Linked DNA regions of Homo sapiens: region 2 is linked to region 1. The links are contacts of gene promoters, found by promoter capture Hi-C in human tissues and cell types (Jung and others, 2019). All regions are on one chromosome and are shown on one strand. Each heading gives the region's core, a stretch centred on a gene start or on the middle of the fragment in contact. The rest is flanking DNA. Distances are from core to core; before and after follow the strand shown.

What was found. Contacts are between HindIII fragments. The study calls those that stand out against the background at their distance.
Region 2: a contact is called between a fragment that was not itself captured here and the fragment with the promoter of PTGER3 in region 1, in 2 of the 25 tissues and cell types used here (H1 embryonic stem cells and heart left ventricle).

Annotation. Positions count from the first base shown.
Region 1 is chr1:71,044,913-71,051,511 of GRCh38, reverse strand. PTGER3 (prostaglandin E receptor 3) reads left to right here and starts at 3,696. Exons shown (of 4, transcript NM_198719.2): 1 at 3,696-4,831. The coding sequence starts at 3,935. It overlaps ZRANB2-AS1 (ZRANB2 antisense RNA 1), which reads right to left and starts at 5,006. Exons shown (of 3, transcript NR_038420.1): 1 at 3,923-5,006; 2 at 2,524-2,698. RefSeq lists an enhancer at 3,699-4,282. The HindIII fragment of the contact is 12,323 bases long and covers 946-6,599 here.
Region 2 is chr1:70,793,157-70,799,755 of GRCh38, reverse strand. No RefSeq gene overlaps it. Among named protein-coding and RNA genes, the nearest start is that of LINC01788, 90 kb to the right of the region's middle. The HindIII fragment of the contact is 8,802 bases long and covers 1-6,599 here.

The DNA.
Region 1 (6,599 bases), core at 2,447-4,946:
TCCTCCCTGTGCTGTGTGTACTTTGGGTGGGAGAAAGCTGAAGCTTCAGAAACTTTAAATGTCAGGGAATAGCCCTAAGCTGGCAGAGTAGCTGCAAATAAGAGGAGAATCCCTAGAATCAAGGAACCCACACAGAAGGTGATCTCCATTGCTAACTGACCAGCAAATTACACAGGCATAGGGAAATCAATCTCTAGGAAGCCAAGCTAAAAGAGCATGGAAAACCATGAGAATGAAGCAGAGATACCAAGAGCAGCATGCCCCATGGGAGGCAATATTGGCAGTTTGAATCCGGACAAGTTAACTGTCAAACAGAGCAAACAAACATAAAATAGATAATACTCAGGGAAAAAAACCCGGTAGACTCCAGAGTCATTACAATATATTACAATGTCCAGTTTTCAATTAAAAAAAACAGGCATGTAAAGAATAGGAAGAAAAGACAGCAGAAAAGGCATTCATAGAAAGGGACTCTTTGATCTAGCAAAGACTTCTAGGCATTGCTTTTATTTTGATACAGTAATTACATTGATTGATGTTTAAATGTTAAGTCTACATTGCACTGTACTTCCATGACAATCATTCTGAGAAGACAAAAGCCATGGGATCAGTGTTTCTCCTGTTATTTGGCACTTAGAATCAGTAATTTTGCACTAAAATATAAACCCCATGAATATAGGCACTGTTATGTATTGCTTTTGTATCCCTAATGACTGAAACAGTGTCTGACATAGATTGGGTGCTCAATGAATGGTTATTGAATGAATGAATGACTAAAATATAAACTAAAATTACTGGTTGGCTCCATGAAGAAAGACTTTCAGATATTTTCCATCCATAGTGAGGCAATCAAAGGCTGATCATGTGACTCATTATTAATCTTATTTTGTATCCATATTTAAGATTTTTAAATAGATGTTTAATAGAAGTAAATAGCAAAATAAATTCATCATCACTAGCTAAATATTGACATACATTATACATTTTAAGCTGTAGGGTACAATTAAGTAATCTGTGAATTTAAAACATGTCCAGGTTAGAATTTCATTGAAAACATAATAGGTGAATATATACTTTAAATTAAAAAAAAATGAATATCTGGTCTTTCAGTTTAATCCTCTACTGGTTTATTGACTGTTAAACAAAGTTGCCAATTTGTAACCTCAAAGGAAAACAAAGTGACCACAATTATGTACTGATAAGTAGATCTCTAGGAAAGAAATCAGAGATTCCCTAAGCAAAGCATCCATTGGCCCTATGGAAATTCTCTTTAAAACAGCATAAAGCATGTTATTAGCCTTTTGGTCACTAGAGGGTGGTGTTGTTTCAGACCAACACAATTCACACTATATCCGTAGTAACTGACCAGAAAGTACCAACCAGAATCCAACTGCCAGCTTCACACTGTTACTCCACAAAACCTCACAGTCACTTGTTTACAAGGTGAATAGCTAAAGGCAGACAATATAGGATGAAGCAAAGTGCTGAAAGAAGAGAAATACCCAAATTATCTGAAATGCAACACATTTTGTTCATTGGCATAGAGGTTAGTGAGAGGCTAACAATTCTTTACTAATACATGCCCCGACGCTTACCATGCTTATCAAGTCCAATTGGCTACAGCAAGCACTTCAGTGGGAGAAGTAAAAGTTTCAAAGAAGTCAAATATTTGTGAATAAAAATGAGAATAGTTTTTGATGTAACTGGAAAAAGATAAGCCTTGCTTCCTTTGCTGTGTGAATGGTGATATGGTCTTAAATTTTAAATATTGAATTACACTAGAATTTTACTAACTATAGATGGTATAAACTTGATAGCCACTTTCATCCAAATGCTTTGGATAAAGCTTTGTCTAAGAATAACCTCAAATATTATTTTATTTTCAAATGATATTAGGCTAGAAAAATACTATCCCAAATACAGGTTTGAGATTAATTCAAAATAATAAGACAAAAGTTTACGGAAGATTTTAGAATCAAACCATTTCACCCTTCCTAGCTGTTGTTCCCATTGTAAACGTGACATTTTAGTCAGTAAAACGCAAAAGTGCAAAACATTTTTAAATGACAGCAAAACACAAAATGAAATTCATGTTGTGATTAATGCATCTTATTAAAATGGAGTTTAAGTTGCATTCTTGCTTTTCCTTCTTTAAAAAACATATAATGTTATAGTGATATTTTTTCAAACTCTCATACAGAATCAAGACAACAGCACATAAAGTATGCAGAGGGACATATCCCATTCTTACCTCTTAACAGTAATTTAAAAGTTAAGAACACCCATACAGAACATCAGCTAAGCTAGGAAAGGCAAAACTGATTGGGCTTGTTCTGAAAGTTGATCTGTGTCAATCAAAATAATGGTCTTTAGAGTGCTATATGATTAAGTCTAATTTCTTAAATATGAGGAAAAATGAACTTTGCAATTATTTTTAAAAATCTTTTCATCTCTTAGACAGTGTAAAAAGGCAAAAAGCAAAAAACACAAGACTTTCCCAAGATTAGGGGAAGATGATCTCACCGTTAATATTCATCTGCTGAGAGCAGTTATGGGACCCATGTCAGGAATACATGCTTCAAATAAGATGGGACTTGAGAATTGCTGAGAGACTTCAGGAACATTCTTTAACTTCATGGGGCCTCAGTTACCCCACCTTTAAGGGAAATAATAATAGCAATAGTACCTTGGAGGATTTCTGTGATAAAATGAGAAAATGCTTGTGAGAAGTACATAAAATATTGGCTTACTGAAAGATGTTACGAGGCAAGCAAGTATGCCTATTTTCATTCAATGTTTATTATTTCAAAGGCAAAGTTTCCATATAGATTAAGGCCTTCATAACATCTGAATACCTTTTCTAGTTCTTATTGTATGAAGATAAGAAGGATGGTTGGAGGCTTTGTAAGGAATACCTTTCTCTTCTGCTCCCCTCTCACTCCCATAGGCTGGGAGCAGTTGATTTCACTACCTCAGATATGCAAATTGATGCCACCTTCCTGTAGCCACTTTTGCCATAGCTGACCTTTTTGTTGGGTGGTGGGGAGGGGAGCGGGCAGGATTAGGCGAGGGGTAGTAGTTGGGATTTCTTGGTCTTGGAATTCAACCATCCGATGTATTTGTTTCCCTGTGTCTATTCCCTTAAGTCTACAGGCACTGTCTAGTAATTTTATAGTTTTCAGCGGCACCCCAGGGGACAGGACACCTTGGCCTTTTTATAATCACTCTAGAGTCACAAAGCAGAAAGGAAAAAAGTTAACGATCAGCTATGCAAAGGCTTGTGTGGATTGCTTAAGGACAGGCGATTTTCACTTTACCAGAGTTACTAAAGGACTTCAGGAGAAGGATCCCGTCCCTGTAGGAGCGTTTGTGGTTGAAGAAGCAGGAGGACGAGCGCTCAGGTGCGCCTCGGCAGTTTGCCTGGGGTCCGCAAGTCCAGTGCTACTTATTAGCTGCTTGCCGTCCACCGACACTTTAGCGGAGAACTGGAGGAGACCCCAGTGGGCTCCCGGTCCGGCCAGGAGCAGGGCGTTTCAGAGGAGACCGTCTGGGGCTTCCCAACCCAGGCGATCAGGATAGGCAACAGCCAAGAGAGGCGCTCAGTTGCTTTGCACCCTCCTCCCACCTCGGTTCTGTCCACACCCACGGGCGCCCCGCCCCCTCGGCCTTATAAAGGGGACTCGGCACCTCCGCGCGCCTCGCCACCAGAGGTTTCCCAGAGAGGAAGGCGTGGCTCCCTCCCGGGCCAGTGAGCCCTGGCGCCGCCGCGGCCGCGGTCCCAGCAGCGGAGTAGGGCGGCGGCTGCGCCCCGCACCATGGGGGGCAGCCCAGCCCCAGCCGCGGTAAACGCCGACCTCCGCCGCCGCCCGCGCCGCGTCTGCCCCCTCCCGCTGCGGCTCTCTGGACGCCATCCCCTCCTCACCTCGAAGCCAACATGAAGGAGACCCGGGGCTACGGAGGGGATGCCCCCTTCTGCACCCGCCTCAACCACTCCTACACAGGCATGTGGGCGCCCGAGCGTTCCGCCGAGGCGCGGGGCAACCTCACGCGCCCTCCAGGGTCTGGCGAGGATTGCGGATCGGTGTCCGTGGCCTTCCCGATCACCATGCTGCTCACTGGTTTCGTGGGCAACGCACTGGCCATGCTGCTCGTGTCGCGCAGCTACCGGCGCCGGGAGAGCAAGCGCAAGAAGTCCTTCCTGCTGTGCATCGGCTGGCTGGCGCTCACCGACCTGGTCGGGCAGCTTCTCACCACCCCGGTCGTCATCGTCGTGTACCTGTCCAAGCAGCGTTGGGAGCACATCGACCCGTCGGGGCGGCTCTGCACCTTTTTCGGGCTGACCATGACTGTTTTCGGGCTCTCCTCGTTGTTCATCGCCAGCGCCATGGCCGTCGAGCGGGCGCTGGCCATCAGGGCGCCGCACTGGTATGCGAGCCACATGAAGACGCGTGCCACCCGCGCTGTGCTGCTCGGCGTGTGGCTGGCCGTGCTCGCCTTCGCCCTGCTGCCGGTGCTGGGCGTGGGCCAGTACACCGTCCAGTGGCCCGGGACGTGGTGCTTCATCAGCACCGGGCGAGGGGGCAACGGGACTAGCTCTTCGCATAACTGGGGCAACCTTTTCTTCGCCTCTGCCTTTGCCTTCCTGGGGCTCTTGGCGCTGACAGTCACCTTTTCCTGCAACCTGGCCACCATTAAGGCCCTGGTGTCCCGCTGCCGGGCCAAGGCCACGGCATCTCAGTCCAGTGCCCAGTGGGGCCGCATCACGACCGAGACGGCCATTCAGCTTATGGGGATCATGTGCGTGCTGTCGGTCTGCTGGTCTCCGCTCCTGGTAGGTAGTTCCAGGGTTGGGGGAAGTCAGGATGCGTGTGCGAGTAAGCGGGAACCTAAGACTTTGCTAAGTGGCAGCACCCGCAGGGGTGTGTTTGCAACCGCAGAGCGCTGAAGTGTCCTTTCCTCCTGCCCGCGCGGTCTTGGTTACAGCTTCAGAGCTGAGCTCCTCACTTACTAGCTGAGCGCCTTCCAAGAGCCAGGATTCGCATTAGGCACTGTTTATGAGCACATAGAGATCACAGGGCTGCTCACATTCTAGTCGGGTAGGAGACAGGATGTGTCATTGAAATGACATATATGCAGAGCTAGAAGTTTGTCCTGAGTGCATTAAAAGCAGAATTGCTATGATAACTGTAGCCTGATATTGTGGGGTTTTTTTTTTTTTTTTTTTTTGAGACGGAGTCTCGCTCTGTCACCCAGGCTGGAGTACAGTGGCGCAGCCTCGGCTCACTGCAAGCTCCGCCTCCCGGGTTCACGCCATTCTCCTGCCTCAGCCTCTCCGAGTAGCTGGGACTACAGGCGCCCGCCACCACGCCCGGCTAATTTTTTTTTTTTATTTTTAGTAGAGACGGGGTTTCACCGTGGTCTCGATCTCCTGACCTCGTGATCCACCCGCCTCGGCCTCCCAAAGTGCTGGGATTACAAGCGTGAGCCACCGCGCCCGGCCGGGTTTTTTTTTTTTAATTTCAAATTCCTCTTTCACGTTAATAAGATTTTCAGTCTGCAACCCCATACAGTCACAGCCCTCCTGCAGCTTCTGAAAGACTGCGCGACCTATGGGTGCCTTCAAGGTTCATTCTTGATGAGGCAGGAGAATGAAAGATACGAGTTGCCTCCTCAGCCTTTCGCCATGGTGCTTGACCCTCTAGGAAGTGCCCGAACGACAGTCAGTGGGATCCGGAAGCTCAGCAGCTTCTTCAGGCCAGCATTTACTTACCCTTGTAGCACTCAAGCAGGGTTCGCTAATCCTGAGATAGGAGGTAGAGGTTTCTCCATGTCCTAGCTCCTCACACCAGAGCAATGCAGAGGAGCAAGGGATGTTTGCAGAGGCTCTTTGCCTAACACCTGCCCTTACGTGATATTTTTGAGGTTTTTTTGTCTGTGTTACTTTTAGCTAGAAATGTCCGTGTGTAAGTGCTGTTTACTAATTCCTGAAGAATGGATGCTTACTTAGGCCCTGGGGTGTCTGGGTTAATAGATGTTGCAGAAAGAGCGATATGGTCACTGTTACAAAGGTATAACCAACTATATGTATTATACAGTTGTGGAAAACCTTTGAAACACGTGAACGCAGTTTTTTTTCTTTCCTAATTATGGTAAAATATATTACATACAATTCAGTATTTTAACCATTATTATGTGTACAGTTCAGTGGCATTAGGCATTAAGTACGTTGAGTTTTTTGTGCGCCATGTATACTTTTAAATCCCTTGCATTTGAAAATAGAAATGTAATTTCTTTAACCTGGTTTGGTAGATTGGAGCACAAACCTTGGCTCCAAATCAGTGACATGAGGGGACAAGGAGTGTTATGCTGAGACCTAACTGCCCACAAGTCGCTGTATGGTCACAGTTCTTTATTCCAGGAGTTGGAACTCAGGCTGATGTCATCACTATGGCTTATCAAAACCAGCACCAGTTTTAGATATACAGTATTTACTTTTATGGCTGAGGAATGGAGTGTACAGGTGGCCAACTAGGAAGGAAGAAAGAGTTCTAAATAGTAAACACTTTACTAAAGTGTGGTAATTAATATAACTTTAAAGG
Region 2 (6,599 bases), core at 2,025-4,524, 250 kb after region 1:
AGCTGCATCAATTTTGCTGCAAATGACATACTTTCAATCTTTTTTATGACTGCATATGTATTCCATGGTGTATATGTTCATTTTCTTTTTCCAGTCTACCACTGATGGGCACCTAAGTTGATTCCATGTCTTTGCTATTGTGAATAGTACTGTGATAAACATTTGAGTATGTGTCGTGTTGGTAGGATGATTTATTTTCTTTGGATATATACCCAGTAATGGGATTGTTGGGTTGAATGGTGGCTCTGTTTCAAGTTGTTGAGGAAATCTCCAAACTGCTTTCCACAGTAGCTGAACTAATTTTTACTCCCACCAACATGGATAAGTGTTCCCTTTTCTCTGCAGCTTCTCTAGTATCTGTTATTTTTTGACTTTTTAATTATAGCTATAATGAAGTAAAACACCCCTCAGCAAATGCAAAAGAATGGAAATCACAATGAACAGTCTCTCAGACCACAGTGCAATCAAATTAGAACTCAGGATTAAGAAATTCACTCAAAACCACTCAACTACATGGAAACTGAACAACCTGCTCCTGAATGACTACTGGGTAAACAATGAAATTAAGGCAGAAATAAATAAGATCTTTGAAACCAATGAGAACAATGACACAATGTACCAAAATCTCTAGCATACAGCTAAAGCAGTGTTAAGAGGGAAATTTATAGCACTAAATGCCCACATCAGAAAACTGGAAAGATCTAAAATCGACACGCTAACATGACAATTAAATGAACTAGAGAAGCAAGAGCAAACAAATTCAAAAGCAAGCAGAAGACAAGAAATAACTAAAATCAGAACAGAATTGAGGAAGATAGAGACACGAAAAACCCTTCAAAAAAATCAATGAATCCAGGAGCTGGTTTTTTGAAAAGATTAACAAAATAGATAGACCACTAGCCAGACTAATAAAGAAGAAAAGAGAGAAGAATCAAATAGACACAATAAAAAATGATAAAGGGGATATCACCACTGATCCCACAGAAATGCAAACTACCATCAGAGAATACTATAAACACTTCTATGCAAATGAACTAGAAAATATAGAAGAAATGGATAAAGTCTGGGACACATACATCCTTCCAAGACTAAACCAGGAAGAAGTCAAATCCCTGAATAGACCAATAACAAGTTCTGAAATTAAGGCAGTAATTAATAGCCTATCAACCAAAAAAAAGCCCAGGACCAGACAGCTTCACAGCCAAATTTTACCAGAGGTACAAAGAGGAGATGGTACTATTCCTTCTGAAACTATTCCAAACAATAGAAAAAGAGGGACTCCTCCCTAACTCACTTTATGAAGCCAGCCTCATCCTGATACCAAAACCTGGCAGAGACACAGAAACAAAGAAAATTTCAGGGCAAAATCTCTAATGAGTATCGATGAAAAAATCTTCAGTAAAATACTAGCAAACTGAATCCAACAGCACATCAAAAAACTTATTCACCACAATCAAGTTGACTTCATCCCTGGGATGCAAGGCTAGTTCAACTTACACAAATCAATAAATGTAATCCATCACATAAACAGAACCAATGACAAAAACCACATGATTATCTCAATAGATGCAGAAAAGGCCTTCGATAAAATTCAACACCTCTTTATGCTAAAAACACTCAATAAACTAGGTATTGATGGAACATATCTCAAAATAAGAGCTATTTATGAGAAACCCACAGCCAATATCATACTGAATGGGCAAAAGCTGGAAACATTCGTTTTGATAACCAGCACAAGACAAGGATGCCCTCTCTCACCATTCTTGTTCAACATAGCATTGGAAGTTCTGGCCGGGGCAATCAGGCAAGAGAAAGAAATGAAGGTATTCAAATAGGAAGAGAGGAAGTCAAATTGTCTCTGTTTGCAGATGACATGATTGTATATTTCTAAAACCCCATTGTCTCATCCCAAAATCTCCCTAAGCTGATAAGCAACTTCAGCAGTCTCAGGATACAAAATCAATGTGCAAAAATCACAAGCATTCCTATACACCAATAATAGACAGAGAGCTAAATCATGAGTGAACTCCCATTCACAATTGCTACAAAGAGAATAAAACACCTAGAAATACAACTTACAAGGGACGTGAAAGCCCTCTTCAAGGAGAATTACAAACCACTGCTCAAGGAAATAAGAGAGAATACAAACAAATGAAAAACTTTCCATGTTCATGGATAGGAAGAATCAATATCATGAAAATGGCCATACTGACCAAAGCAATTTATAGATTCAATGCTATTCCCATCAAGCCACCATTGACTTTCTTCACAGAGCTAGAAAAATCTACTATAAATTTCTTTTTTTCTTTTTAATTATACTTTAAGTTTTAGGGTACATATGCACAACGTGCAGGTTTGTTACATATGTGTACATGTGCCATGTTGGTGTGCTGCACCCATTAACTCATCATTTAACATTAGGTATATCTCCTAATGCTATCCCTCCCCCCTCCCCCACCCCCCAACAGGCCCTGGTGTGTGATGTTCCCCTTCCTGTGTCCATGTGTTCTCATTGTTCAATTCCCACCTATGAGTGAGAACATGCGGTGTTTGGTTTTTCATATGGAACCAAAAAAGAGCCCATATAACAAACACAGTCCTAGGCAAAAAGAACAAAACTGGAGGCATCATGCTACCTGACTTCAAACTATACTACAAGGCTAGAGTAACCAAAACAGCATGGTAGTGATACCAAAACAGATATATAGACCAATGGAACAGAACAGAGGCCTCAGAAATAATACCACACATCTACAACCACCTGATCTTCAGCAAACCTGACAAAGACAAGCAGTGGGGAAAGGACAACCTATTTAATAAATGGTGCTTGGAAAACTGGCTAGCCATATGCAGAAAACTGAAACTGGACCCCATCCTTATACCTTATACAAAAATTGACTCAAGATGGATTAAAGATTTAAACATAAAACTTGAAACATAAAAACCCTAGAAGAAAACTAGGCAATACCATTCAGGACCTAGCCATGGGCAAAAACTTCATGACTAAAACACCAAAAGCAATGTTAACAAAAGCCAGAATTGACAAATGGGATCTAATTAAACTAAAGAGCTTCTGCACAGCAAAAGAAACTATCATCAGAATGAACAGGGAACCTACAGAATGGGAGAAAATTTTTGCAATCTATCCATCTGACAAAGGGCTAATATCCAGAATCTACAAGGAAGTTAAATTTACAAGAAAAAGACAACCCTATCAAAAAGTGGGCAAAGGATATGAACAGACAGTTCTCAAAAGAAGACATTTATGCAGCCAACAAACATATGAAAAAAAGCTCATCATTGCTGGTCATTAGAGAAATACAAATCAAAACCACAATGAGGTATCATCTCACGTCAGTTAGAATGGTGATCATTAAAAAGTCAGGAAACAATAGATAGGGAGGATGTGGGGAAATAGGAATGCTTTTACACTGTTGGTGGGAGTGTAAATTAGTTCAACCATTGAGTAAGACAGTGGTGATTCCTCAAGGATCTAGCATCAGAAACAGCGTTTGACCCAGCAATCCCACTACTGGGTATATACCCAAAGGATTATACATCATTCTGCTATAAAGACACATGCACGTGTATGTTTATTGCGGCACTGTTCACAATAGCAAAGACTTGGAAGCAACCCAAATGTCCATCAATGATAAACTGTGTAAAGACAATGTGGCACATATATACCATGGAATATTATGCCTCCATAAAAAAGAATGAGTTCATGTCCTTTACAGGGACATGAATGAAGCTGGAAACCATCAGTCTCAGCAAACTAATACAAGAACAGAAAACTGGGCCGGGGGCAGTGGCTCACGCCTGTAATCCCAGCACTTTGGGAGGCTGAGGCGGGCGGATCACGAGGTCAGGAGATCGAGACCATCCTGGCTAACATGGTGAAACCCTGTCTCTTCTAAAAATACAAAAAATTAGCCGGGCGCGGTGGCAGGCACCTGTAGTCCCAGCTACTTGGGAGGCTGAGGTAGGAGAATGGCGTGAACCTGGGAGGAGAAGCTTGCAGTGAGCTGAGATAGAGATTGCACCACTGCAGTCTGGCGTGGGTGAAACAGTGAGACTCCATCTCAAGAAAAAAAAAAATAAAGAACAGAAAACCAAACACGGCATGTTCTCACTCACAAGTGGGAGTTGAACAATAATAACACATGGACACAGGGAGGGGAACATCACACACTGGGTCTTGTTGGGGGTAGGGGGCAAGGGGAGGGAGAGCACTAGGACAAATACCTAATGCGTGTTGGGCTTAAAACCTAGATGAGGGTTGATGGGTGCAGCAAACTACTATGGCACATGTATACCTCTGTAACAAACTTGCACATTCTGCACATGTATCCCAGAACTTAAAGTATAATAAAAAAGATAATAATAATAGCTATAATGACTGGTATGAGATGGTATCTCATTGTGGTTTTGATTTGCATTTATCTGACCATTAGTGATGCTGAGCACGTTTTCATATGTTTGATGGCCACTTGTATGTCCTTGTTTTGAGAAGTGTCTGTTCATCCTTTTTGCCCACTTTTTAATGGGGTTGTTTTTTGCTTGTTGATTTAAGTTCCTTATAGATTCTGGATATTAGACCTTTGTCAGATGCATAGTTTGTGAATATTTTCTCCCATTCTATAGGTTGTCTGTTTACTCTGTTGTTAGTTTCTGTTGCTGTGCAGAAGCTCTTTGGTTTACTTAGATCCCACTTGTCAATTTTTGTTTTTGTTGAAATTGTTTTAAGGCCAATGTCCACAAGGGTGTTTCCTAGGTTTTCTTCTAGAATTTTCTTTCTTTCTTTTTATTTTTTTTTTATTTTTGAGATGGAGTGTTACTCTGTCACCCAGGCTGGAGGGCAGTGGCACAATCTCGATTCACTGCAACCTCCACCTCCCAGGTTCAAGTGATTCTCCTGCCTCATCCTCCCAAGTAGTGGGATTACAGGCATAAGACACCATGCCCAGCTAATTTTTTTATTTCTAGTAGAGATGGGGTTTCACCATGTTGGCCAGGTGGGTGCCGAACTCCTGACCTCAGGTGATCCACCCACCTCAGCCTCCCAAAGTGCTGGGATTACAGATGTAAGCCACCATGCCTAGCTTCTTCTAGGATTCTTACAGTTTGAGGTCTTATATTTAAATATTTAATCTGTCTTGAGTTAATTTTTATATATGGTAAGAGAGGTCCAGTTTCATTCTTTTGCATATGTCTAGACAGCAATCCCAGCACCAATTATTGAATAGGGAGTCCTTTCCCCATTGCATATTTTCATCAACTTTGTCAAAGATCAGATGGCTGTAGGTGTGCAGCTTTACTTCCAGGCTCTCTATTCTGTTCCATTGGTTTATTTGTCTGTTTTTATACTAGTACCATGCTGTTTGGACTACTTAGCCTTATAATATAGTTTGTAGTCAAGGAATGTAATGTGATGCTTACAGCTTTGTTTTTGTTGTTGTTGTTGTTGTTTGTTTGTTTGTTTTTGCTTAGATTGCTTTGGTTATGCAGTCTCTTTTTCAGTTCTATATGAATTTTAGAATAGTGGGAATTTTTTTTACTCTGTAAACAATAACATTGGTAGCTTAATAGGAATAGTGTTGAATCTGTAGATTGCTTTGGTAAGTATGGCCATTTTAATAATATTAATTCTTCTAATCCACGAGCATGGAATGTTTTTTATTTGTTTGTGTCATCTTGATTTCTTTTAGCTGTGTTTTGTAGTTCTCCTTGTAGAGGTCTTTCTCCTCCTTGGTTTAATGTATTCCTAGGTATATTATTTTGGGGAGGGCTATTGTAAATGGAACTGCATTCTTGATTTGGCTCTCAGCTTGAATGTTATTGGCATACAAAAATGCTATTGATTTTTGTATGCCAATAACATTGATTTTGTATCCTGAAACTTTACTGAAGTTATTTATGAGTTCCAGGAGGCTCTTGGTGGAGTAATAGAGTAATATTGTTAGTAAAGAGAGATAGTTCGACAATTTCTTTTTCTATTTGGATGCCTTTTATTTATTTCTCTTGCCTGATTGCTCTGGCAAAGAAATAAGGGGATATTTTGGGTATAGACACACATACAAGGAAAGTACCATGTGAAGATGAAGGCAGATGTCAAGGTAATACAAGAGAAGCCAAGGAATGCCGAAGATTGCCAGCAAACCACTAGAAGCTAGAAGAGAGTCATGGGATGGATTCTCCCTCATAGACCGTAGAAGGAATGGACCGTGCTGACACCTTGATCTCTGATTTCTAGACCCCAGAACTCTGAGACAATAAATTGCTGTTATTTAAGCAAATGTTAACAATTTCTAGAAGAAATATTGCAGCTATCAAATTGAAAAATCTCCCTACATGTGGGGCAGAATTTTAAAAAAAATCACCCAGTACTATCAAAGTAGCATGGCAAAACATCAAAGGTAATGGGAAAAATATTAAAAATTGATATAAATTTTATGTTTTGTGTATTCTGTCATAATTTTTAAAAATTGCAAAAAATGATCAGATAGGAAAGATATAAGTGAACATGTGAGTTTAATCTTGGGGTGATTTTATAGGGTCTGAGAAAGGTGTGGAAGGAAGCAAGAGCAAAGGGGATCTGC